Regions from separate parts of the Homo sapiens genome. Here all the other regions are linked to region 4. The links are contacts of gene promoters, found by promoter capture Hi-C in blood cells and fetal thymus (Javierre and others, 2016). All regions are on one chromosome and are shown on one strand. The core of a region is centred on a gene start or on the middle of the fragment in contact, and the rest is flanking DNA. Distances in the headings are between cores, read along the strand shown.

The links. Contacts are between HindIII fragments. The CHiCAGO score rates a contact against its expected background, and 5 or more counts as called.
Region 1: a contact is called between a fragment that was not itself captured here and the fragment with the promoter of MCF2L2 in region 4, in 1 of 17 cell types (M2 macrophages). The highest score is 5.5, in M2 macrophages.
Region 2: a contact is called between the fragment with the promoter of B3GNT5 here and the fragment with the promoter of MCF2L2 in region 4, in 2 of 17 cell types (M1 macrophages and endothelial precursors). The highest score is 5.4, in M1 macrophages.
Region 3: a fragment that was not itself captured here is called in contact with the fragment with the promoter of MCF2L2 in region 4 in 1 of 17 cell types (M1 macrophages); the score reaches 5.6 in M1 macrophages.

What each region holds. Positions count from the first base shown.
Region 1 is chr3:183,583,976-183,586,804 of GRCh38, reverse strand. No RefSeq gene overlaps it. Among named protein-coding and RNA genes, the nearest start is that of KLHL6, 30 kb to the right of the region's middle. The HindIII fragment of the contact is 4,302 bases long and covers 1-2,829 here.
Region 2 is chr3:183,251,917-183,254,755 of GRCh38, reverse strand. It overlaps B3GNT5 (UDP-GlcNAc:betaGal beta-1,3-N-acetylglucosaminyltransferase 5), which reads right to left and starts at 1,503. Exons shown (of 2, transcript NM_032047.5): 1 at 1,284-1,503. All of the region lies in intron 15 of MCF2L2 (MCF.2 cell line derived transforming sequence-like 2), which reads left to right. LOC124906310 (a long non-coding RNA gene) reads right to left here. Exons shown (of 3, transcript XR_007096189.1): 3 at 2,201-2,221. The HindIII fragment of the contact is 12,746 bases long and covers 1-2,025 here.
Region 3 is chr3:183,603,647-183,606,427 of GRCh38, reverse strand. No RefSeq gene overlaps it. Among named protein-coding and RNA genes, the nearest start is that of KLHL24, 31 kb to the left of the region's middle. The HindIII fragment of the contact is 572 bases long and covers 1,222-1,793 here.
Region 4 is chr3:183,427,260-183,430,027 of GRCh38, reverse strand. It overlaps MCF2L2 (MCF.2 cell line derived transforming sequence-like 2), which reads left to right and starts at 1,409. Exons shown (of 30, transcript NM_015078.4): 1 at 1,409-2,126. The coding sequence starts at 2,051. RefSeq lists a silencer at 1,580-1,659. The HindIII fragment of the contact is 2,747 bases long and covers 1-2,138 here.

The DNA of each region.
Region 1 (2,829 bases), core at 324-2,823, 160 kb before region 4:
TAAATGAATGAAAGGGGCAACATTCACCCATGTGTAAGTATCCTCTGGAGGAACTATGTAGACTGAGTTAGATGAGCCCAGAGTGAAACCATAAGACCTTTAAAGCTCGTTCCGAGGAGAGGATGTTGCTTGAAGGTGTGGTTTCCTCCAACTGAGTGAGCCGCCGCCCTACACCACTGTGTTACCTGGGAAGAGAAGGATAGGAGAATGTTCAGGGCCAGGGGACACTAGATGTTAACAGAAATTCATTTCGTTTTCTTTTGAGTTAGAAGATGAAAGATAAGAAAACTTCTCAAGGCTTGGGCAGCCCCTCTCCAAGAAAATCCTGCTAGAATGGCAAGAAGGGCAATACTTTAAGCATTCCACCCTTTGATGGCCATACAGAGTGACAATCCCTTCCATGCAGAGGGCACAGGTGGACACCTCCCTCCTTGCAATCAGAGCATGTACCTACACTGGAGCCCTCAAGACCTCCTAAGGCTGAAAAATGTCTCGTGCACACCCAACTAATAGAAGATCCACGGTGTCTTGGGTGAGGTTCTGTGAGCCATAGAAACAATGAGAAATTTGGGGATATCATTGTGTATTTATTAATTTTTTATTTTTATTTATTTATTTGAGATGGAGTCTCGCTCTGTTGCCCAGGCTGGAGTGCAGTGGCACGATCTCAGCTCACTGCAAGCTCCGCCCCCCCAGGTTCACATCATTCTCCTGCCTCAGCCTCCTGAGTAGCTGGGACTACAGGTGCCCGCCACCATGCCCAGCTAATTTTTTTGTATTTTTCGTAGAGACAGTGTTTCTCCATGTTAGCCAGGATGGTCTCGATCTCCTGACCTCGTGATCTGCCTGCCTCAGCCTCCCAAAGTGCTGGGATTACGGGCGTGAGCCACCGCACCTGGCCCCATTGTGTGTTTATAACCCCCATCCCCTCCTCACAACCAAATTCAAACTGCAAATAGCAATAGACGCCAATGACTATTTGACCAACACGCTATGGTGGAAAACACATGGGCTTTGGGGGTCAGAGACACCTGGGCTCAAATTCCATCTCTGTCACGTATGGCTTAATGATCTTGGGAAATTTGCTTAACCTCTCTGAACCGTAATCTTCGTCTATGACAAAATTACCCTTTGCAAAGTTGTTTGGGTTCAGTGGTTTGATACATGGAAAGGACCCAACAAATAGTGGTATGATCGTTATGGTGGTAGATTTTTGGCTTACAACTCAGCATGCTAAAACACTTTATAGGCATGATAAAATGCAAAGTCTGTCTTACCTTTCTCCTCCTATCTCTATAAACCTTAGAGGATTTGAGCCTTGTAGAGAAACCAAATATTTTAAAACAAAAAGTTTATTTTCAAATGAATTTTGGTAAAGGTTGATATCCAATGTGTCCATTTGAGCTGGGTTTTTTTACTCAGCAGCAAGAATCCTAATACAGCATGTAACACAATTCTTGACCATAGCAGCAACTCTCTAACTGTTTAACTCTCAACTCTCTAACTGATTGCTGTTGTTATGACTGTTGCCCTTGGTCCATGAAGTCTATGAAGATTGTACCCCTAGCTTCACTGGGGCATTCCTGAAACTCACTGTCAGTATGGTTCTAGAGACAGTTTGATAAGTCCAACTGTCCTTAAACAAAATCTTTGCTATTGGTTCTATCCATAGAGTACACCTGTTTCTACTTCCCTCTCTTATTCACGAAGTCACCCATTGATCCATTCATCATGTCACAAGCTAGGAAAAAGAGCTTCCTGTTAGTTAAATTATCTGATAACAAGAGACACAGGGATTCCTCAGTATCTCCAAAACAGACTCCAGTCGAAGCCAATTGGGAGTGAGAGAGAGGATCTGGTGTTGGTGCTCTGTGAAGGAAGACTCGTTATGTCCCTACAGTTAAGAGTTTTCTTACCTTTGAACAGTGCTTAGATAGGCTGTTCCTGTCCTTTGTTGACAGCTAATGGTTTTTTACAGGCCTGAGCTGATTCATGTCCTGCCTGACCCTGACTCTCACATCAGCCTCCTGAACTCATCTGTACTTGGCCTAACTTTAATTATCTGGTAACAGCTGCTGCCTCCTTCTCTGGTGCAGCCCCAGTCTGGGCCTGGCTTCCAGCTGGCTTCCTGAGAGCAGGCCTCCAAGGGGCTGGAACATAGATTCTGCATGTCTTTGCAGAGGGGTATTTTCCCTGATAGCATATCCCCTTGGAGTGGCAGAGAGTTACTTTTCAGCAATCCTTGCCATTCACAGACGAGTTTTCTGCTATTTGAGCTCACTATTGCCAGAGATGGCCAGAGGAGCAGTGTTTATCACATAAGGAACGTGTCCTTGGATGCGGATCACCCTCGTCTGGCAGCAAACCAAAAACACCATTCATTCCGCCTCTTCTCAGAGCCACAGCTGGGACATTACAAACTGCATTAATATGCCAGAAAAATACCCCAGCAAAGGCTTCAGGGCAGGGAGCGACTGGGGTCAGCCCTATGGCATCAGTCAGCTCTCGGTCTCCAAGGCTGAGGCCTCTTCTTTCAGCAGCCTTATGGGTACAGTAATGCTGGGAAGGTGCTTCCATGGTGTTAAGAAGGTGGGACAAGGGACTCAGGAAGGAGTGCCCCTGGGCCTGGGACTGATGGTAGGTGGCCTGATGCCACTCTCAGGACTGGAGATAGTTCTACTTACAGGAGTGGAGCCAGGGTACAAGGATCACAGTCAGGTCAGATGGGGGAGGGCTGTTTGCTTGAAGCAGCCTGAGGCCATGTGGCCAGGGTGGAGAGCCAAAATCACCCCCCAAAACAAGCAGCGTAAACAGAATGAAAGAAAGTGT
Region 2 (2,839 bases), core at 254-2,753, 180 kb after region 4:
TTCTCAGGTTGGCGGTTTCTTCTTTCCAGCCCGACACGGGCTTTCGACTCGAATTCAGCCCTCCAGCCGGAGGCGGGTGGCCGCAAGCCTGGGGCCCCCGGCCGGCAACCGAATTGGTGGGCGCGGCGTTCGCCTCGCGGCTCCCGCGCACGGGCCTGTCCCGCCACCGAGGAGCCGGAGCTCCTCAGGGACGGGGACCCGCAGGCCCCGGGAAGCCGCCCCAACCGGAGCTGCCCGGCCCCCGAGCCTACCTGCCGCACCTGGGCGGCGGCCCGGCCTGGGTCCCAGCCGCTGGCCACCCGCGCGGGCAGGCCGGAGGGAACAAAGGCGTTCCGGGGAGGGGACGAGCCTCCTTCTCCGCCGCGCTTTCAGAGGGCGGGCTGCCGGGGCCCGCGGTGGGAGAGGCCTCCCCGGCTTCCCGACTTCCCGGCGCTGGGCCGTGCGCGGTCCGGGCCAGGGCGGCGGGCCCCGATCCGGTGTCCACGCCAGCCACGCGCCCCCGGCCCAAGCGCGCGTTCCCACCTGAAGTCCTGGCGCCACCCGCCGGGCGAGGGCCGGCGTGCCCTCACCTCCTCGCCACTCTTCTCCTCCAGAGACCTCGCTCGGCCCGGAGTGGGCAGACTCGGAGCCTCCCGCGCCGGAGACCGCGAGCCGCTCGGCCGAGGAGGCGCGGCGGGGCGGGGGCGGGGCGGAGGGGCCGGCCCGCAGCCCCCAATGCCGGGAGCCCGCGCTGGAGACCCAGGGAGCCCAGCTCGGGGCCGCGGCACGGAGAACGAACCATCCGTGGCCTGGAGACGTATCCCGCCGAGCGGCCAGAACTTTCCCCATTTAGCGATCCGGAAAGGAAGCCAACACTCCCACCCAGAGAGGCCTCGGCCGCGGAAAGATGCGGCCGCGGCACAGCCGTGTTTTCACCACGTAACTGACCACAGACTAACTCCGCGCGGAACCACCGGCCCAGGGCGCTCCGCCAAGAGGCGGACTGTGCTGGCCTCGCGGGCCCTACGCCCAGGGAACGCCGCGGTTCCTCCCACACGGGACACCGGTTCCGCAGCGCCGCGGATTAGGATGGTCTTTTACTTTCCGAGCGGGAGCTCTAACGCAGGCTCAGGCGGGTCTTGTTAAAAGGTTTCTGGTCACACCACTTATGCGTGGAGCTCTGGGGGCCTCAGTAACAAAGTAAGGAAACTTACAGCAAACTAGGGCTGCACTGCCGCTGTCCGTTTCTAAAATACGAGAAGAGGGGGAAACCCCGCCCCAGGCCAGCTTCCCAGTGACTTTACCTCCAAGTCCAGCTTCATTTCAAGGGCAGTTTAGAGCGAAACTCACGAAGTTCAAGCCCAGCTCTTTAAATGTCCAAATCGGAGGTCGGCTTTCCTTCCCGCATCGGAGCTAAAGTCGCTGGTCTCAAGAACAAAACTTGCGGGCTTTAAATCTTGGGCGAGGACTGGACGGGCAGCGCTGGACTGGGCTCGCTTCCCCGGCGGGATGCGGGCTGTATGCGGGCGGGATGGGGGCGGGCCCGGGCGGGGGCGCGAGGCTCCCAGCCGCGCGCCCCGCACTCTCGGCGTCACGGCCCGAGCCCGGCCCCGCCCGCCAGCCGCCACCCTCCCGGCGCGTAGGTGAAGGTGATGGGCCCCGCCCCAGTTTGTTCTTGTCTGTAGATGAGAATTCCAGGAAGTGTTTCCCTGCCGCTCGTCAGTTAATTGCGATCACTTACTCAAATGGCCAACTGGAAGCCAGAGTGCACATGAATGTCCTCTTTGAGCTATTTTCCTCCTTTAGAATACTTCATGCAGGTAACCAGACAATATCGAGAGATGCGGACTTCTACTCAACGAGAGAGATTATAAATGAATCCTGGATGCGCTTGATTTCTTGTTTCCCGCATGTTGTTAGACCTCTCCCTAAAGCCACAAAACATTTAACGGAGATAATATTTTGAGCGATTCTGTTATTGTACATATTTCAGAACATGACAGAAAAGCAAAAGATTAACCCAAATACTTTAGTAAAATAAAAGCTTTGAGTTTGTCGTAAAAGGAACAAGACAGGTAATGAGTTAAATGTATGATTGTCGAATCAGGGTTTAAAACAGTGGGGCCAGCAGACACGGTGGCTCACACCTGTAATCCCATCACTTTGGGAGGCTGAGCCGCAGGAGGATTGCTTGATCCCAGGAGTTAGAGACCAGCGTGGCCAACATAGCAAGACCCCATCTCTAAAAGAAAAAACACACACACAAAATGAAAACTGTTGTTCATTCAAACTAGATTTTTAGGAAGTTTTTAAATTGCTTTCCTTAAGCTGGTCAGCATCTTTTAAATCATGCAGTTCTTTTCATATGCTGCCTACACAGGGCATGGCTCAGCATCTCCCAGACTGTGGCACTGCATGTTCATCAGACCACAGACAGAAATATTTACATGTGTGATTTGCAAAGGAGTCATTGACAGTGACCCACAAATAAGCTGATTCATTGTTAATACAGCACTAATGACATACCTTCTCTAATAAAATGCTGACTGAAATCCCACATGCATTTCCCCCAGCCATCACATGTGTATGTTGTATATCTGTGCAAATATTCAATTACAATTATATTCCTTTCAGATCATTTGGAGCTAGGTCCATGTGTCAGTATACATATGTTCCACATACATGAGCACATAGAACTGTACCCACGAGAAATACAAACTGACCAAAACAGTGGTAGACACACATACAAATCACATATTCACATCATACTAGATACAGATAAACACACCAGATAGATAAATGGTTTCAAAAGTATGTCTGGAGATTGGAAATACGATGCAAGTTTTTTGGTGGTAGGAGG
Region 3 (2,781 bases), core at 258-2,757, 180 kb before region 4:
ATATTTTCTTCTTATCACTTCCCCCCAGCTGTTTGATTGTTATATGCTTTGTGTGTGTGTGTGTGTGTGTGTGTGTGTGTGTGTGTGTGTGTGTATTTATCTTGCGTGAAGGTTTGTTGGGATTCTTGAAGCTACAGGTTTATAGTTTCTATTACATTTGGAAAATTTGAGCAATATTTTTGTTTAATATTATTTCTGTCACTCCCCCACTTCTGCATCTTGTAATCCCATTATACCACTTTATATTGCCCTACAGGTCACTGAAACTCTGATCAGTTTTTTCAATCTTTTTTCTTTCTGTGCTTTTCTCTCTGGATAGTTTCTATTTCTATGCCTCCAAGTTCACTGATCTTTTCTTCTGTACTGCCTAAATTGTTGTTTAACCCTTTCAGTAATTTTTTTTTTTGAGACGGAGTCTTGCTCTGTCGCCCAGGTTGGAGTGCAGTGGCACGATCTCGGCTCACTGCAAGCTCTGCCTCCCGGGTTCACGCCATTCTCCTGCCTCAGCCTCCCGAGTAGCTGGGACTACAGGCGCCTGCCACCAGGCCCGGCTAACTTTTTGTATTTTTAGTAGAGACGGGGTTTCACCGTGTTAGCCAGGATGGTGTCGCTCTCCTGACCTCGTGATCTGCCCGCCTCGGCCTCCCAAAGTGCTGGGATTACAGGCATGAGCGACCGCAGCCGGCCAAATTTTGTATTTCAAACATTATATTTTCATCTCTGGGATTTCCATTTGGCGCTTATCTATATCTCCCATTTCTCTCTGCATTACATTCATTTTTCTTTTAAATACTTGAACATAGCTACAATAGTTGTTTTTGCTTTTGGGTTTTTTTTTGTTTTTTTTTTTTTTTGTTTTTTTTGCTAATTTCATTACCTCTGTCATTTCTGAATTTGATTTTTCTTCTAGTCATGGATCACTTCTTAAAATTAAAAAAAAAACTTCTTTGTATGTCTTGTAATTGTATTTTAGGACAGGGTCTTGCTATGTTGTCTAGGCTAGATTAGAACTCCCAGCTCAAGCAACCTTCCAGCTTCAGCCTCCTAAGTAGCTGGGAACAGGTGCACACAACCATTCTTGCCTACTCTGGTGATTTTTGATTGGATGCTGGACATTTCAACATTTGTTGAGTGCTCAATTTTGCTTTTTTCCTTTTAAATATGTTAGACTTTATTCTGGCAGACAATTTATTAGAAAATCAGTTTGATCTGTCTGAAGCTTGTTTTTAAGTTTTGTTATTGTAGGTCTAGAGTATCCTTTACTCTGGGACTAGGGTAGTCCTACAAGCAAGGTGTGGTGCTTCTGGGGTCTTTACTGAATGCCCCAGGTGCTTAATACAGTTTCTTCTTTCTGGCTGATCAGAACTCAAATGTCTCCTAGGTCTGGGTGAACTCTGGGAATTTTTCAGCTTGCAGCTACTGGTAATAACTTCCCAGGATTTTTGTGAGGATTAAATTAAATAATGCATATGAAGAGTATTGCAGGGGATTATGATTATGAAGAGATACATAAGGGGCTTCTGGGGTGCTGGCAATATATTTTTTGATCTGGGTGGTGGTTACATGTATGTTCACTTTATAACTATTTGTTAAACTGAATTTTTTATGTGTATGTTATACATCACAATAAAAATCAAAAGAAAACAAAGAATATAACATACTGCTGGCATATAGTAGATGCTCAATAAATGTAGCCAGCCTGATTACATGAGATAAGAGATGTAAAATAGCTGGCACAGAATCCAGCACACAGGGTTGGGGGAGAATCCTGGATAATTTCCTGTAAGTAAGCTTTTTATGGAAGTATAACCTAATAAAGAGAAATAAACAGAGCATAAGCACATAGCTCCATACATTTTTCCAAAACAGAACACACCCAAGTAACCAGTGACCAGGTCAAGAAATAGAACTTAATTGGTTCTTAATTGTTAATGTAAAACAATATGGAATGGGATTTTCCTGATGTCTCATAATTTTGGTTAAATTCTCAAAGCTGATAAGAATTCCTCTTTATTTCTAAAGAATGATTTTAGATATCCCCTCAAGGTTGTCTAAAAAATGGCAGAACTGGTCCTGTGACTGTCAGCCTCTGTCATCCACCTTCAGCCTCATAGAAGCCTAGGAGTTCTAAGGGTGCAAGAAGCATAGAAGCCTAGGAGTTCTAAGGGTGCAAGAAGCATAGAAGTCTAGGAGTTCTAAGCAAGCAATCTTACAGATAACAGATTGCTTGCCTAGGAGCAGGGTAGGAGATGTGCTCAAGTGATGGGCTGAGAAGGAATCACAGCCCCTGTGTTTCCATGGAGCCAGGGCTGAAAGCTAAGAGAGTTCTTGGGAAGCCTGACATGCAGACTTTGGAGTTTATGGGGTTGGGGAGGTGTTGTGGTTGAATGGTGTGGTGTTGGAGTTAGTTATACTAAACACAGAGGCCAATGTTTGCTTCCTACCTAGAAAACCATTAAGGCAAGAGGAAGGCTAGAGAAGACCATGATGGCATGGTAAGGAGTGAGAGCCACTGTTTGGTGGGGCAAAGTTATATGAATTTCCTGGCAGAGTGAACTCTGCAACAGGCAGTGAGATTTCAGCTCCCTCGACGGGGACCTCTGTCATAGGGCATCCATCTTCTTGAATTCTTTTTTTTTGAGATGGAGTCTTGTTCTGTCACCCAGGCTGGAGTGCAGTGGCGCCATCTTGGCTCACTGCAACCTCTGCCTCCTGGATTCAAGCAGTTCTCCTGCCTCAGCCTCCGGAGTAGCTGGGACTACAGGCACGCGCCACCACCCG
Region 4 (2,768 bases), core at 160-2,659:
TGGGCCACTACGCCCGGCCTTTTAACCCTTTTTTGAATCTCTTGCAAAAGGTGGTTGTGAAAATGGTTGCTCAGTGGCCGGGCATGATCACTTGAGTCCATGTGTTTGAGACCAGCCTGGGCAATATGGTGAAACTCCATCTCTAAAAACGAAAAAAAAAAAAAAGAAAGAAAAGAAAAAGAAAATCCTTGCTCTGTTTTGCAGGCAGAGTGCAAAGTGCCCAAACTTCACAGGGGGAAGAACCTCTCCACAAATCTCATGACACAGGTGAACTGACCTCGCTTCTCAATCACAGCCCACAATTGTTAGAGAAAGCATTAAAAAGGGCTGGGCGCGGTGGCTCACGCCTGTAATCCCAGCACTTTGGGAGGCCAAGGTGGGCGGATCACGAGGTCAGGAGATCGAGACCATCCTTGGCTAACACGGTGAAACAAACCCCATCTCTACTAAAAAATACAAAAAATTAGCCGGGCGTGGTGGCGGGCGCCTGTAGTCCCAGCTACTCGGGAGGCTGAGGCAGGAGAATGGCGTGAACCCGGGAGGCGGAGCTTGCAGTGAGCTGAGATCGCGCCATTGCACTCCAGCCTGGGCGACAGAGCCAGACTCAGTCTCCAAAAAAAAGAAGAAAAGAGAAAGCATTAAAAAAATACCCTCAGCCCCCTGTGATGGGTGGCTACTCCTAGAATTTGGATCCAGGGTGTTTGCGGCTTGGCTTTTTACATATCGAAGAGGAAAGAGATGGCTGAGAACATCCGCCTGGGTGGTCCCGCCATTCCGCCTGCTGAGTATTCAGGGACTCCCGCTGTAGAAAGGATTGGGGGACAACCTGACCGAATTCGCATTTGCTCAGGCGTTTCCCGTAGCGCTCTGCTGAACTGGGGTTAGTCTTTTGCTGCCAGTCAGAAAGTGTCTGGGCCCAACTAGGGAAACCACGGGATAATGGGCTGATGGGGAGGAGGACCAGCATGGAGGATGTGCCACAGCCCCTCCAGAAGGTAGCACTGGCGTGCCTGACAGGTGACAGACGGAGCAGAGGCAAGGGCGCAGCTGCACGAAGGAAAACGCCCACATAGGGGGTGAGCGCGCCCACGCGTGCTCAGCCTTGTCGGAGCGCAGCCCGGGCGCCGGGCTCCCAGTGCAGGTGTGGCCAGCGGAGGTCAAGAACTGCGTGGAACAACCCCAAGTGGGGGAAAACACACGCCAGCCGCCCCCGGGGTCAGGAGGTGGGGCAAGCAGCGGCGCCTCACCCAGCCTCCCGCTCCGGGTCCTGCCGGATGGCGGCAGCTCTCCGGGCCAGCCCCCTTCTCTCCGCGGCTCCTCCGCAGACACCCGGCGCGGAAGAAGGAGGGGCGGAGACCTGGCCGGCGCGCGTCTGATGATCCGGACCCCGGTGCGACTGGAGCGCCTCAGTCACTGTCTCCCCGCCCCACGGTTCCGAGTAAGGACCGGAGCTCCACTCCGGGGGTGGAGCGCGGGCTCCCCGCAGGGAAAGGTGCGCAGCGTTCCCGACCCCAAAACGAGCGGCGCTTGGGAGCGTGCGTGCCTCCCCGAGAGCCCCGGGCGCCACCCGTGGGCTGGACGAGGTGGGCGCTGGGGCGTGGGGCCGGCGGCGCAGAGAAGCCACGGCCACCTGCCGCCTCCCCTGCACCTGGCGGAGCATCCCTCACTCTACAGTCCCTGGAGGCGGCGCCGGAAACCTGGCGGCCGGGACCGCGATTCTGGAAGCCCCGGAGCTCGCCCGGCCGGAGGAGCCGGGGCGCGGTTCCGGCGAGATTGGCGACTTGCTTCCTTTTGCAGAACGGCCGCTCCTCTCTCGGTCCAGCTGCGACGCTGGGAAAGCGCCAGACTTGGTCTGTCACGGGAGCCCCCGCGGGGCGTGGCGAGGGAGAGCTGGCCTAGGCTGCGAGGGACTCTCGTTTCTTGCCTGGAGAGCCAGGAAGAGGGCGAGGGCAGAGCATCCTTGGGCGGAGATGCCTTTAAAAAATCATCCACCGCAGCGGTAGAAACAGTTTTGTTTGGCTTTATTTATACGGAATGGTTTTTCAGTGAAATGCTGTCTTGCTTAAAAGAAGAGATGCCTCCCCAGGAGCTCACCCGGCGACTGGCCACAGTGATCACTCATGTCGGTAAACGAAGCTTTAATTTTTCCTGCGTTTTATTAATGGCGGGTGAGGATGGTCTCTGGGCTTCATCTGGCTCCTGGCCTCACCCGCTGCCCCGGGGCAGCGCGCTTCCTGGGGGGTTGCCCGGCATCTGGGCCTCGCTGCTCTGGGTCCTGCCTGCGGTGCCCAGCGGGGGGCATCCCTGGGGCGCGCCGCTGGTGGGGGTCGGGGGGCCGAGGCTGGTGCCTTCACCAGGTGGTTGCCGAGTCCGTTGAGCTCCAAACCGAGGGCTGCTGGGCTGTTACCATCCGTTAGCTGCTTCTGACGGGAGTAGGGTGGGTGGGAAGTTATGTTCTGGTTTTGGGGATAGTGAGAAAGGAGAGGGCATAAGAGGAACGAATGCCAGTGCTTTTCAGCAGAAATGATTGCCACGCCACTGAAGGCTTGTTTATAAGAAAGTGCAGGGAGAGGCAGGTTACATGGGAGCGCCCCTGCGCAGCTCGGCCGCTAGGCCTGTTTTACTGTGCTGCCTGGAGGGTTAAGCACACCCCTGATGATCCCCGCGAGAAATCTCTGCAAGCCAAGGAGACTGAGCAATTTTAATCTTCTTCCCTGAGTTGAAAAGAGGAGCAAAACATGCATTGCTTGCTCCTGAAATAAGGGTTG